2 separate regions of the Homo sapiens genome follow, and region 2 is linked to region 1. The links are contacts of gene promoters, found by promoter capture Hi-C in blood cells and fetal thymus (Javierre and others, 2016). All regions are on one chromosome and are shown on one strand. Each heading gives the region's core, a stretch centred on a gene start or on the middle of the fragment in contact. The rest is flanking DNA. Distances are from core to core; before and after follow the strand shown. Region 1 holds the start of ABHD8 (abhydrolase domain containing 8). Region 2 overlaps NWD1 (NACHT and WD repeat domain containing 1).

Evidence for each region. The method cuts DNA at HindIII sites, captures the fragments that hold promoters and counts their contacts. A CHiCAGO score of 5 or more calls a contact.
Region 2: a contact is called between a fragment that was not itself captured here and the fragment with the promoter of ABHD8 in region 1, in 7 of 17 cell types (naive B cells, naive CD8 T cells, total CD8 T cells and 4 more). The highest score is 11.3, in naive B cells.

What each region holds. Positions count from the first base shown.
Region 1 is chr19:17,299,962-17,307,121 of GRCh38, reverse strand. It overlaps ABHD8 (abhydrolase domain containing 8), which reads left to right and starts at 3,697. Exons shown (of 5, transcript NM_024527.5): 1 at 3,697-3,880; 2 at 5,498-6,266. The coding sequence starts at 5,506. It overlaps MRPL34 (mitochondrial ribosomal protein L34), which reads right to left and starts at 1,250. Exons shown (of 2, transcript NM_023937.4): 1 at 1,165-1,250; 2 at 279-956. The coding sequence starts at 1,229. The coding sequence ends at 743. RefSeq lists silencers at 937-996, 3,575-4,124, 4,508-4,802 and enhancers at 1,227-1,306, 5,160-5,660, 5,661-6,161. The HindIII fragment of the contact is 14,500 bases long and covers 3,015-7,160 here.
Region 2 is chr19:16,769,076-16,776,235 of GRCh38, reverse strand. It overlaps NWD1 (NACHT and WD repeat domain containing 1), which reads right to left. Exons shown (of 19, transcript NM_001007525.5): 11 at 2,913-3,110. Among named protein-coding and RNA genes, the nearest start is that of NWD1, 53 kb to the right of the region's middle. The HindIII fragment of the contact is 3,685 bases long and covers 2,797-6,481 here.

The sequences.
Region 1 (7,160 bases), core at 2,448-4,947:
GCACTTTGGGAGGCAGAGGAGGGCGGATCACCTGAGGTCGGGAGCTCGAGACCAGCCTGACCAACATGGAGAAACCCCATCTCTACTAAAAATACAAAATTAGCCGGGCGTGGTGGCGCATGCCTGTAATCCCAGCTACTCGGGAGGGTGAGGCAGGAGAATCGCTTGAACCCGCAAGGCGGAGGTTTTAATGAGCCGAGATCCCCCCATTGCACTCCAACCTGGGCAACAAAAGGGAAACTGTCTCAAAAAAAAAAAAGAGTTATGACACATATAAGGCAAGTGGAACTTTGAACATTTATTACACGTTTAATAATATTTCAAAATTATTGATAATTCTTTTGGATGTGATAAGCTTTGTAATTGTCTTTTAATGAGCTCTCATCTTGGAGAGATACATTCTGAAATATTTACAGAAGAAATAATCCGATGCCTGAGATCAGCTTCAAAAGAACTCAGGATGGGGCAGGGACGGGTTGTAGGTAGTCGGTAGTCAGGGTACTGGGTACACGGATGTTCTTTGTACTGTTCTTTGGTCTGTTGCGCAGGTTCGAAATGCTTCCTAATTAAAAAGCCTAAAAAGGGACTTGGCAAGCTCCCATCCAGACTTCAACCCCACAATATGGAGAGCACTCAGGTCCGAGGCGTTCCTGCTCCCCAGCTCCCTGCAAAAATAGCGCCAGGCAAGGTCCGAGGCGAGGGCGATGCTTCCATGAGGGTCCCGCCGACTGCGTCGCGATCCTCAATGGCTCAGCGACTTGCGGCCCTTGAGCATTCGGCGAAGGATGACCTGCACGCCGGCCGGCGTGCTCAGGCGCCGGACCCAGCCGTGCTTGTTCTTGCGTTTGATGTTGCTCGGCTGATACTCATTCCCGCGAGCCTTGCCCCGGGCCTGCTGCGGGGTGGGGAGGCCCCAGGCGTCTGGGAACCCCAGCCAGGCCCGGGGCTGGAGCCACCTGCGTGGGTAGAGGGACGGCGAGAAAGGTCAGACGGGGCGCTGGGTGACCTTGGCGCTCAACCTCTCTGAGCCTCGGCTCCCGGAGACAGAGCCTGGCTGCAAAATGCGCAAGGCACTGGCAGGTCACGCGGGCAGTGAAGAGTGGCGCCAGCCTCCGAAGCCGCCCTTATTCCCTGATTTGGGGAAGGGTCCCCCTGAGGACTTACCTGCCACCCAGCAACGCTGCCGACCTACTCGTGGGGCCCAACAGGGATCCAGCCAAGACAGCCATATCCGCAGTGGGTCCCGCAGTACCGGCTGCGGGCGATTCCGGAGCCCAGAGCCGCTCCAGCCCTGGAACAAAGGATTATGGGAAATGTAGTTTCTCCTAACGTGCAAAAAAGAGGCCGTTGGGGAAAACCCTGAAGTTGTAGTTCTGCGCCTGCGCAACAGAGGCGCGCCAGTCTATATCCGCGGGGCACAGGGATGCTCTGCATACACACCAACAGGTAGCCGGCGAACGGCGCCTTCTGAGCAAGCGCGTGCGCACAAGGCATTATCTCCCGCGGTCAGCTGGCAGCTGAGCTGTAGTTCTCTCTCCTATTGACCGGCAGAGGGTGCCCCGCGGTGGCCGGGCGCAGCTGGTGGCAGCTGCAGGAAGCGGCTGGTTGGTCTTCCCGCCCCCAGCGGGAGCTGGGCAGATGGCACACAGCTGGCTGGCAGCTTGTCCTGGCTGCAGCCAAGTCTCCGCCTCTTGGCAGGAAGCCGAGGAGGCCTGAGTTCAAGCTCGCTGCGTGTCCTTGGGGTGGTCCCTGCGCCACTCTGGGCTTTCTCAATCTGTAAACTCAGGGATTGCAAGCTTGTCTTTGGCAATCTTGCCCCCATTTTGGGCCCTAGAAGAATTCTCCTCTGTTGTTAGAACCAAAAAAAAAAAAAAAAAAAAGGAAGAAAAATTTTCTGATACTCAGATCTGAACCCCTCCCCTACTCACACACTATCCTTGGCTCCCCATTTCCCCAGGTAAAACCTGCTCAGCCCTTCCATCAGGCATGCAAAACCCTCTACACACACCATCTTACATTTCAGCCACACTCTCCTCTCTGCCTGGTGTTCCCCTATCCGCCCTTTAAAAATCCTTTCCTCTCCAAGGGCTGAGTGAGGTGTGGCTCATGCCTGTAATTCCAGCATTTTGGGAGGCTGAGGAGGGAGGATCCCTTGGGGCCAGGAGTTTGAGACCAGCCTGGGGACATGGTAGCAACCACCTATAGTCTCAAGTACTTGAAGGTGAGGTGGGAGGATTCCCTGAACCCAGGAGATCCAGGCTGTAGTGAGCAATGATAGCGCCAATGCACTGCAGCCTGGGCAACGGAGTGAGATCCTTTCTCAAAAAAAAAAGGAGTCGTCTTCTCTCAACCGCTGTCCATTCTTCTGGCCCGACTGCTTTCCCTTGACTCTCCCCCAAGTTCAAGGGCTCCTCAAGGGCCAGGGGCCTGGGGCTGTATCCCTACAAGTGCCAGCTTGGGGTTCATGCAGAGAGGTGTTTGCTAAATGAATAAACTGTATAGTCTCCCAGAAGTGCCCTTAGTGGGCAAGAGTAGGTGTCTGGACGGAATCCAGCTCTGGCAGCAAATTCCAGGGGATGTGAGTGGCCAAGCAGCAAGGAGCATTTAACCCCTCGTCCTCCGAAGCCCATCCTACCTGTAGCATCGTTTAGCAAAACATCACCACTATAATAATGCCCATAATATATGGAGCATTTGTTATATGCACGACACTATGATGAGTGCTTTACCTGCGTAGCAAACTTATGAGAGGATTAATTTCATAGAGAAATAAACGGAGGCTCAGGAAAGTGAAGTAACTTGCCCGAGGTCACACATCAGCAAAGGGCAGAGGCTGGATTTGAGACCTGAGCTCTCCTGAGGGCCTACCATGGCCCCGCCGGTACCACAGAGCTGGGATGCCTGCCTCTTGCTATCAGCCCTTCTCAGAACCATGGCAGCCATGGGTTAAATCGGCTGATTATGAAATTCAAACTCTCTAATTACCCACAGCTCCAAGACTTTCCTTGAAAGCTTTAGAGAAGCCCGTCACGATGGCTCACGCCAGTGATCTCAGCCCTTTGGGAGGCCGTAGACGAGAGGATTGCTTGATGCCCAGAGTTCGAGACCAGTCTGGGCAAGATAGCGAGACCTCGTCCCTACCAAAAGAAAAGGGGGGGGCGTAGGGGGGAGGTTAGCAAATAATGGTTCCCAGGGTTTGGAATCACACAGCCTTGGGTTCAAGTCCCAGCTTTGCTCCTTGCTTGATTTATGCTCTTGTGCCCTTTATGAGCCTCAGTTTCCCCACCGGAGATTGGAAAAAGATCTTGGAGTCTCTGCTTCTAGAATGGAAAGGTCAATACAGAGAGAAGAGTATGGGGGCCTCGTTTGGAGAGGAACAGGGCAATTGGGAGGCAGGGGCTGGGGGGCAAGGGCTTGGGAGACCCATTTGCAGAGAGAGGGCCCCGGCCGCACACTCCCAGGCGTCCCGCAGACCCTAGACTGCAACCCCCTTCTCCGCCTTGAGCCAGGCCCCATCCCTCCCCCAACCTCGGTGAACCCCCAAAAGGGGCGGGGCCGTTGCTCCCAGAGCCCGCCTCCACTACGGAATTGCCGCCTCTCATTGGGCTCCTAACTAGGCCAGGTCAGTCCGCAGCTGCGATAGGCCGAAGTGCCCGCCCGTCGGCACGTGGCTCCGCCTACTCGGGGGAGGAACTTAAAGGGCCGGCTGTTTCGGCGGCCGCGGGATGCCCCTGCGCTGACCGCCAGGGGCAGGTGCCCGCCCGCGTAGACGCACCCGGCCTGACCCCGCGCCACCATGTAAACGGCGCCAGCAGGCGGACGCTGGCTTCTCCGCCTGGGACCCCTCCGCCCCGACCCGGGCCCCGCGGCCCTCGATGAGGTGAGCGGGGAACGGGCCCCAAAAGGAGAGATCGAAGCCCCGGGGCCTCCACTTCGGAGGAGTGGTGTCCACCAACCCCGCGTTTGGGCTCGTAGGAAGCCACGGAGCCCCAGTGGGCTCGACCCCGCTGCAGGGATGACGAACACCTGGAAGGCGGGGGCCGGGGGCGGGGAAGCGGGGCTGGGGTGGCGCCTGTGCGTTGCCCTCCACAATCCGGGATTAGGGCCCCACTCGAGGTGGGGGGCATGGCCTGCTTCCCCTCCAGTATGTCTGGGGCCACTGCGGCTCAGTCTCGGGCGTGCGTTACCTTAGCGGCGCCCAACCTGGGGTAGGGGGCAGGCAGGCAGCTGGTCCCATCTCCAGGCCCTAGACACCTCGACAATGGGGGTGCACTGCTCGGGTATCCCCCCCTTAGGTTATGTAACCGCCTGTGGTTGCCATGGACACGGGGGCGGGGGTGGCCCAAGGAGTGGGATGGAGGCTTGGAGGCCCCCAGCCAGGGCCCTGCCTCTCCCATCCTCTTCGCCACCTCTGGGGACTTGTATAGCAGATCCCCAGAATCCAGGGTGCCAAGGAGGAAGTTCAGAGTCTAGCTTCCTCTCAGAGTGTCTGGGCCTCAGCTTGGCCCTCTATGAAACAGACCCCGGCTCACCCCGGTCTAGGGGAGCTGAGCAAGGCTTTCTGTGGCTCAGTCCCCATCCCCCTCTCCTAGGGCCTCACCTTTCAGGAGTCAAATTCAGAGCCAGGAGCCTCACTGGGGGCTCACCAAAGATTTGCATATTTTAGATGCCTTAGGAGGCCCTGGGGATATGTGAGTTAGTGAGTGCATACCTGGATGAGTTAGTGAGTTAGTGTATACCTGAATGAATGAGTTAGTGTATACCTGAATGGATGAGTTAGTGTATACCTGAATGAATGAGTTAGGAGGCCATAAATGGTATAAACTCCAGCTGGGGGGAGGGGGTGTCTTCCGGCTGGTCCACATTTGCCACAATGTCCCCTTCTCCAGGAACATCCCCACACAAGACGCCACCACCTTCCCTGTGGACACCCTGTGGGGTAAGCCATAGCCAAGTCTTTCTCTCTGAGGATAGACTAGGGTGACCCAGGAGGGTAACTACCACAAAGGCACTGCTCAGACAAAACATGTCAGTGCACGGTGGCTCACACCTATAATCCCAGCACTTTGGGAGGCCGAAGCAGGAGGAAAATTTGAGGTCAGGAGTTCAAGACCAGCCTGGCCAACATGGTGAAACCCCATCTCTACAAAAAATACAAAAATTAGCTAGACATGGTGGCACCTGCCTATAATCCCAGCTACTCAGGAGGCTGAGGCAAGAGAATCGCTTGAACCCAGGAGGGGGAGGTTGCAGTAAGCCGAAATCCGGCCACTGCCCTCCAGCCTGGATGACAAAGCGAGACTGTCTCAAAAACACACACACACACACACACACACACACACACAAACAAAAAAATCTCAGTGCCGTGGCTCACTTGATCTGGCGCTCCCCAAACTGGAGTCTAAAACAGTTCTCCCAAGGCTCAGGGAGTGCCTGCTGCACGGTGCAGGGTTCTCATTGAGACAGCACCTGAACTGGCTGCTGTCCTCACTCACAGGACACACCATGCTGACCGGGGTGACCGACGGTATCTTCTGTTGCCTGCTGGGCACGCCCCCCAACGCCGTGGGGCCACTGGAGAGCGTCGAGTCCAGCGATGGCTACACCTTTGTAGAGGTCAAGCCCGGCCGCGTGCTGCGGGTGAAGCATGCAGGACCCGCCCCAGCCGCTGCCCCACCTCCACCATCATCCGCATCCTCGGATGCAGCCCAGGGGGACCTCTCCGGCTTGGTCCGCTGTCAGCGCCGGATCACCGTGTACCGCAATGGGCGGTTGCTGGTGGAAAACCTGGGCCGAGCCCCTCGAGCCGACCTCCTACACGGGCAGAATGGCTCTGGGGAGCCGCCGGCCGCCCTGGAGGTGGAGCTGGCAGATCCGGCGGGCAGCGATGGCCGCTTGGCCCCCGGCAGCGCAGGCAGCGGCAGCGGCAGTGGCAGTGGTGGGCGGCGGCGGCGAGCCAGGCGCCCCAAGAGGACCATCCATATTGACTGTGAGAAGCGCATCACTAGCTGCAAAGGCGCCCAGGCCGACGTGGTGCTCTTTTTCATCCATGGTGTCGGCGGTTCCCTGGCCATCTGGAAGGAGCAGCTGGACTTCTTTGTGCGCCTAGGCTATGAGGTGGTGGCTCCTGACCTGGCCGGCCACGGGGCCAGCTCTGCGCCCCAGGTGGCCGCAGCCTACACCTTCTATGCGCTGGCTGAGGACATGCGAGCAATCTTCAAGCGCTATGCCAAGAAGCGAAATGTGCTCATTGGCCATTCCTACGGGTAAGTGAACCCTGGCATGTGGGGTGGGGGTGAGGGATGGGGTCAGCAGGGACTACAGTCACAAAATACTGAGTTTTTGGCTGAGCCCCGTGGCTCACGCCTGTAATCCCAGCACTTTGGGAGGCCGAGGCAGGCGGATCACCTGAGGTTGGGAGTTCGGGAACAGTCTGGCCAAGGTGGTGAAACCCCGTCTCTACCAAAAATACAAAAATTAGCCAGACGTGGTGGCACGCGCCTGTAGTCCCAGCTACTCGGGAGGCTGAGGCAGAGGAATCACTTGAACCGAGGAGGTGGAGGTTGCAGTGAGCCGAGATTGTGTCACTGCACTCCAGCCTGGGCGACAGAGGGAGACTCTGAGATGCCACTGACACCTGTAATCCCAGTGCTTTCGGGGGCCAAGGCGGGAGGATATCTTGAGGCAAGGAGTTTGAGACCAGCCTGGGCAACATAGGGAGAACCCCCTAGCTCTACAAAAAGTACAAACATTAGCTAGGTGAGGAGGTGCACGCATATAGTTCCACCTACTTAAGGGCTGAGGCAGGAGATTGCTTGAGTCTGGGAGGTCGAGGCTGCAGTGAACTGTGATCACACCACTGCACTCCAGCCTGGGCAGCATGGCAAGAACCTGTCGCTCTTTAAAAAAGAAAAAAAAATCCGGGCGCGGTGGCTCACGCCTGTAATCCCAGCACTTTGGGAGGCTGAGGCGGGCGGATCACGAGGTCAGAAGATTGAGACCATCCTGGCTAACACGGTGAAACCCTGTCTCTACTAAAAATACAAAAAATTAGCTGGGTGTGGTGGTGGGCACCTATAGTCCCAGCTACTCGGGAGGCTGAGGCAGGAGAATGGCATGAGCACGGGAGACGGAGCTTGCAGTGAGCCAAGATCATATTG
Region 2 (7,160 bases), core at 3,390-5,889, 530 kb after region 1:
TCTCAACTTTAACAGAACTAGAGGATGTACAGCGGGGCACAGTGGATCTGAAACACAGAACATTTCCCTGCCCCAGAGATGAGAAAAATGTCACGCTAAGCTGTAACTTCCTATGCCTGTGCCATGACAGACATCATTAATCAATCACAGCACTATGTGCGATTTGTGCCCCCATAGTCATTCTATCATCTCACCTTTAGTAATAAAACCCAAAAGCCTACAGGTTTTAGCTGAGTACATAGTTATCCGCACAAAGACCACATTTCCCTGGCTGAGCACAGTGGCTCAACCCTGTAATCCCAGCACTTTGGGAGGCCAAGGTAGGCGATCACCTGAGGTCAGGAGTTTGAGACCAGCCTGGCCAACATGGTGAAACCCTGTCTCTACCAAGAATACAAAAATTAGCCAGGCATGGTGGCATGTGCCTGTAATCCCAGCTACTTGGGAGGCTGAGGCAGGAAAATGGCTTGAATCTGGGAAGCAGAGGTGCAGTGAGCCGAGATTGCGCCACTGCACTCCAGCCTGGGCGACAAGAACAAAACTCCATATAAAAAGTAAAAATAAAAATAAAAATATAAAAACATATTTCCCAGGCTTCCTTACAGTTGGAGATATCCAAGTTCTTGCCAATGAGACAGGAGTGGAAATATTTAGTTCTGCTTCCAGGTCGTGCCCTTAAAATGAAGAGGCCTGCCATCTGCTTCTCCTATTCCCCACTGGCTGGAATGCCATCTTGATGGTAGGAGTTGGAGCAGCTATATTGGGCCAACGAGGACAGCCCTACACTGAAAATGGCAGAGCGCCAGACTGAAAGAGTATGGGTCCCAGACACCCTAAAGACTCCCTCTTGCCTCTGCTTTTGCTTGAACTATTTCAAAAGAGAGAATTAAACTCCTATCTTATTTAAGCCACTGATATTTTGGCCATTTTTTTTTACAACATCTGAGCCTATATTCTAACAAATACACACTCTTTCCCACTAAGCTAGCTTCAGTCTTAGAATCCTCAACACAGCATTCTAGTGGCTGCCCCTAAATCAACTCCTCCATGCATTGTACTTAGTGTCTCTTAGCATTTCTATTTTGAAAATAATGTGCCTGGGGAGTGCAGCTCTCACTGCCAGGTCATGTGGCACAGTAAGGAGCTCTGACATTTGAACCACAAGTGAACTCAGTGGTCTCACAATCAGTGTGAGAGATTGTGGGTGGGCAGATAAATAGATGGGTGAATGGAGGTAAATGAGTGGGTAGACAGGTGGCTAGTTGGATGAGTGAGTGGGTGAATGGATGGGCAGGTAGATGGGTAGATGGAGGAATCAGTTTCTCGATGAAATTGAAGTGAGAAAGTTGATGAATGGCTAAGTGTGTGGATGGGTGGAGGCGTAAGTGAATGAATGGAAGATGATCAGATGAAGAAAATGGAAGGATAAGTGGGTAGAGGGGTGGATGACTGATGGGTGGATAGAAGAGAGGAAGGAAGGAAGAAAGAAAGGGTTGAAGGATGAATGAATGGATGAATGGATGGGTGAGTGGATGGATGGAAGGAAAGGTGTGTAGGTGGGTGAGTGGATGGAAGGGTGGGTGGATGGACGGATGAAAGGATGGGAAGGTGATTTGATGAATGGATGGATGGATAGATTAATGAAAAGGTGAGTAAATGATTTGATGAATCGATGAATAACGGATGGGTGGATGGATGAATGGGGCTAGATAAATGAAACAGTGGTAGGGTAGATGGATAGATGGATGGATGGGTGGATGGGTGGATGGATGGAACAGTGGAACAGTAGATGAATGAAAGAGTGGGAGGGTAGATGGATTTAGAGATGGGGGATAGATGGATGGAAAGGTAGCAGGGTGGGTAGATGGATGGGTGGATGGGTGGGAGGATGGATGGATGGATGGATGGAGAGGAAAGTGGTTTGATAGATGAATTGATGGATAAATGGAAGGGTGGGTAGATGATTGGATGAATGGACAACTGATGTATGAATGGGTGGGTGGATGAGTGAATGGATGGATAGATGGATGGAAGGGTGGGAGGATAGATGGATGGGAGAGTGGGAAGGTGGATGGATGGATGGATGGATGGGGCAGTAGATGGATGGAAGGGTGGCAGAGAAGATGGGTGGATGAATGGATGGGTGGGTGGGAGGACGGTGGATGGATGGATGGATAGATGAATGGAAGGGTGGGAGTGTAGATAGATGGATGAATGGATGGGAGGGTAATTGGATGGAAGAGTAGGAAGGTGAATTAATGGATGGATGGATGGATGGATGGATGGATGGATGGATAGATGGATGGATGAATGGATGGGTGGGTGGGAGGCTGGTGGATGGATGGATAGATGAATGGAAGGGTGGGAGGTAGATAGAGAGATGAATGAATGGATGGGAGGGTAATTGGATGGAAGAGTAGGAAGGTGAATGAAAGGATGGATGCATAGATGGTTGGATGAATGGAAGGAAGAAAAAAATGAATGACAAATGGATGGCAAAACCTAAATCCTCTCCTCTCCCTTACATTCTGGGATTCCAAGGGCTGCTTACAGTTCCTTCAGCTTCTCAGAGGACTGTCAGGCATCAGTTCCTAGCTTTCAGAATTACTAGCATGAGCTTGTAAATAGCTGAAACTGTCAGATGGGCACCAATCCCTTGGAGATGGGAAGCTTGGAGGCACCCCCTAGCATCGGGCTCATTAGAAGAATTTATATGAGACATCTACAGTCCCTTGAGGTGGGGCAGAGAGAGCTGATTCAGCATGAGACAGCAGGGGCAGGCTCTGATGGCAAGCTTGGGGCCTCCCAACTAGCACAGGGGAGTCCCAGAGGACAACCTCAAACACCTGGCCTTCACTGCCCCCAGGCAAGCAGGTGCCTGCTGGGATTTTTGCTATGCTGGGGAGACTCACCTTTGTGACAGCCGCTGAGAGTTGCCCGGAGGGGTCCTCCCGGGGGCTGGAGGAATCCTCCGAGGGGCACCAGCACAGGGTGTGCGCACAACTGGAACCAGCTCTGGGCCTGTTGGCATAGCTGTCCCACCAGTGCTGGATGTGAGGTGGCGAAGAAATGGAGTCTGGCCAGCAGTTCTGTGTACAGGAGGCTCCTCTCTGCAACAAAGGGATGTAGACTAAGTTGCCTGGATTGAGCCCCCTCTACCCTCCCTGCCAATTGAGTCTCTGCTCCCTGCAGGGGCTCCAGAACAAAAGAAGACACAATACCTCAGCTACTGGCCTCTGCTGTCCGCTCCTGTCTCCTTCTCTGCTCTCCAGACACACTTACCCTTGCTTCAGAGGCACCCAGCTGTTTCCAGTCTCCAGCCTTTGCCCAGGTTGCCTAGAATGCTTCCCTTTCCTTCCTCCCTCCCTTCTTCTCTCCCTCTCTCCCTTCCTTTCTTCCTTCCTCTTTTATCACACTCTGTTGTCCCGGCTGGAGTGCAGTGGCATGATCAAAGCTAACTGCAGCCTCAAACTTCTGGGCTCAAGCAATCCTCCCATCTCAGCCTCCCAAATACTAGGGACTACAGGCATGCGCCACCACACTCAGCTAATTTATTTGTTTGTTTTATTTTATTTTATTTATTTATTTTTGAGATGGAATTTTAGCCTGTCACCTAGGTTGGAGTGCAATGGTGCGATCTTGGCTCACTGCAACCTGCACCTCCCAGGTTCAAGCGATTCTCCTGCCTCAGCCTCCCTAATAGCTGGGACTACAGGTGCCCGCCACCAGGCCCAACTAATTTTTGTGTGTCTAGTGGAAACGGGGTTTCACCATGTTGGCTGGGCTGACCTCAAGTGATCCACCTGCCTCGGCCTCCTAAAGTGCTGGGATTACAGGCATGAGCCACCGCGCCTGGCTATTTATTTTTTTAGAGACAGGGTCTTACTCTGTCACCCAGGCTGGAGTGCAGTGGCACGATCGCAGCTCACTGCAGCCTCAAACTCCTGGGCTCAAGCGATCTTCCGGCCACAGCCTCTATATTAGCTGGGACTGCAGATGCACGTCACCACGCCTCGTTAGTTTTTTATTTTTTGTAGAGACGGGGTCTCGTTATGTTGCCCAGGCTGGTCTCAAACTTCTGGGCTCAAGATATCCTCCTTCCTCGACCCCTCAAAGCTCTGGAATTATAGGCGTGAGCCACTGTGCTCAGACTCAACCTTTTCAATAAAAGTAGGATCAGAGGAGGGATATATTGGAAATCTTTGTACCTTTCACTCAATTTTGCTGTGAACCTAAAACCGTTCTATTAAAAAATGGGCTATTAAGAAAAATTAGCCGAGCATGGTGGCGCGCAGGCCTGTAATCCCAGCTACTCGGGAGGCTGAGACAGGAGAATCGCTGGAACCCAGGAGGCAGAAGTTGGGTGACAGAGCGAGGCTCCTTCTCAAAAAAAAAAAAAAAAAAGGACTCGTGATCGCGTTGGATCATTTAGGATGTTATGTTGAATGGTCCCCATTCGCCAGCGTGCTTGGATGTACGGAGAGCACATGGTTGTCCAGCAGCGCCCTCTGGTGATAACATTTGTTCCTACACCTCCTCCTTGTGCTGGGGGAGCCACAGGTTGTCAATCAAGGGGCTTTGCAGGGAACTTGCTGAGAGATCTGGGCTTTTAAATCTTCCTTAAAATGGGAAGTCATGCCCAAGGCTGTTTTCCTGGGAAGTTGCTCCATCAAGGTTTACAACTCCTGGCGAGCGCCTCTCGCGTTATTTTTCTTTCCAGTTGCCTTAAATTCCAGTTGTTTGGTATGCTGTTCCATCTCCTTCTCTTTATTTATTTGTGTATTTTGAGACAGAGTCTTGCTCTGTCGTGCAAGTTGGAGTGCGGTGGCGTGATCTCGGCTCACCGCAACATCTGCCTCCCGGGTTCAAGCAATTTTCGTGCCTCAGCCTCCCAAGAAGCTGGGATTACAGGCATGCACCACCACACCCGGCTAATTTTTGTATTTTTAGTAGAGATGGGGTTTCACTGTCACCAAGGCTGGTCTCAAACTCCTGGCCTCAAGCAATCTGCCTGCCTCGGCTTCTCAAAGTATTGGGGTTACAGGCGTGAGCCACTGTGCCCAGCCATCTATCTATTTTTAACTAATTAATTTTTTTTTACAGAGATAGGGTCTCGCTATGTTGCCCAGGATGGTCTTGAACTCCTGCCCTCTAGCAATCCTTCTGTCTGGGCCTCCCAAAGTGCTGGGATTAGAAGCGTGAACCCCCGCACTCGGCCCCATCTCCCTCTCTTAAAGGCTGAGACAAACATTAACTATATTTAGGTCCCTGTGGGAGCTGGGGCTATGGCAGATAATCAGTAGGGGTTGTGTGAATGCATAAGAAAGGCATAAATGATTGCAGGCACCAGCATCTTCACATTGGGTGGAGTTCTGGACACATTTTAGTTCAATTGCACATTTTGCAGATGACAAAAATAGGGTTTCAGGGCAGAAATAGCTCATCCTAGGCTATTCATGTCAACAATGCTATCATATGACAGTAACAGGACCCTCGATGGCAACACGGGTGGAGGTTCTGTGTGAACTGATGCGCGTACTCTTCCCAGCAGCCCTAGGTGGGATGGTCACTCAGCATCCCTATTCTGCAGATGGGAAAACTGAGGGCTGTGGGGCAGGGGGAGGGATGGTAAAGGGTTTGCAAGGTCACACTGCCAAGAAGTGGCAGCGCCAAGATTTCAATGGACACGGTGGGGCTCAAAATTTGTGGTCTCTGTGTGTATTTGTCTGTTCTCATGCTGCTAATAAAGACATACCTGAAACTGGGTAATTTATAAAGGAAAGAGGTTTAATTGACCTACAGTTCTGCAGGGCTGGGGAGGCCTCAGGAAACTTACAATCACGGTGGAAGGGGAAGCAAACACGCCCTTCTTCACAAGGCGGGAGGAGAGAGAAGAATGAGAGCTGAGCAAAGGGGGAAGCCCCTTATTTTAAAAAGCCCCATCAGATCTCTTGAGAGCTTACTCAGTATCAGGAGAACAGCATGGAGGAAAACACCTCCATGATTCGATTATCTCCACCTGGTCCCTCCCTCAATGTGTGGGGATTATGGGAAATACAATTCAAGATGATAGCTGGGTGGGGACACAGCCAAACCATATCAATGTGTTAAAGGTAAAAATTTGGCAGGGAGAAAACAGATGATGCCATTGGCCTTATGGAGCTCAGAGTCTGATGTGGCAGACAGATGATGCAAAAGAAAACCAAGAGAAATCATAATTAAAGGCAAAGACAAGCCAGGGGTGGTGGTGTGCACCTGTGGTCCCAGCTACTTGGGAGGCTGAGGTGAGAGGACCACTGGAGCCCAGGAGTTTGAAGGTGCTGTGCGCTATGATCATGCCATTGCACTCCAGCCTGGACAACAGGGCAAGACTTTGTCTCTAAAAAAAGAAAAAAGAAAAAGAGCCAAGACAGATGGAAAACAGGGTGCAGTGATAGAAAATTCAGAGGCAAGGATCGGGGAGACATAGAGAAGTTAAGCTTCAGTGGTGGCCAGACAAGGCTTCTCTGAGGAATCGCATTTAGCTGAGCTCCAAAGTTGCCACAGAAGGGCTGGGGGAGGCGAGTCCCAGCCCAGGGCCCCCGGCACGCAAGCTTGGATGTTTCCATCACTGTCTGGGGCAGTAAGGATGGAGACAAGCATCTCCCAGGAGAGTGAGTCATACACAGCCATGTAGGCTACAGTACTGGAAAGGTCATTATCCCAAGGACAATGGGAGAACCATCTAGAAGATTCAATAGAGATACTTAGTGAGATTTGGGCTCTTTTTTTTTTTTAATGGAATTTTGCTCTGTCGCCAAGGCTGGAGTGCAGTGGTGTGATCCCGGCTCACTGCAACCTCTGCCTGCTGGGTTCAAGCAATTCTCCTGCCTCAGCCTCCCGAGTAACTGGGATTACAGGTGCGTGCTACCGTGCCTGGCTAATTTTTGCATTTTTAGTAGAGATGGGGTTTCACCCTGTTGGCCAGGCTGGTCTCAAACTCCTGACCTCAAGTGATCTGCCTGCCTCAGCCTCCCGAAGTGCTGGGATTATAGGCATGAGCCACCACACCTGGCCATCTGATGGTTTTATAAGGCAATTTTCCCAGCTTTTGTTCCCTGTCTCTTGAACACCTGGCATCAAGTGATCCACCTGCCTCAGCCTCCCAAAGTGCCGAGATA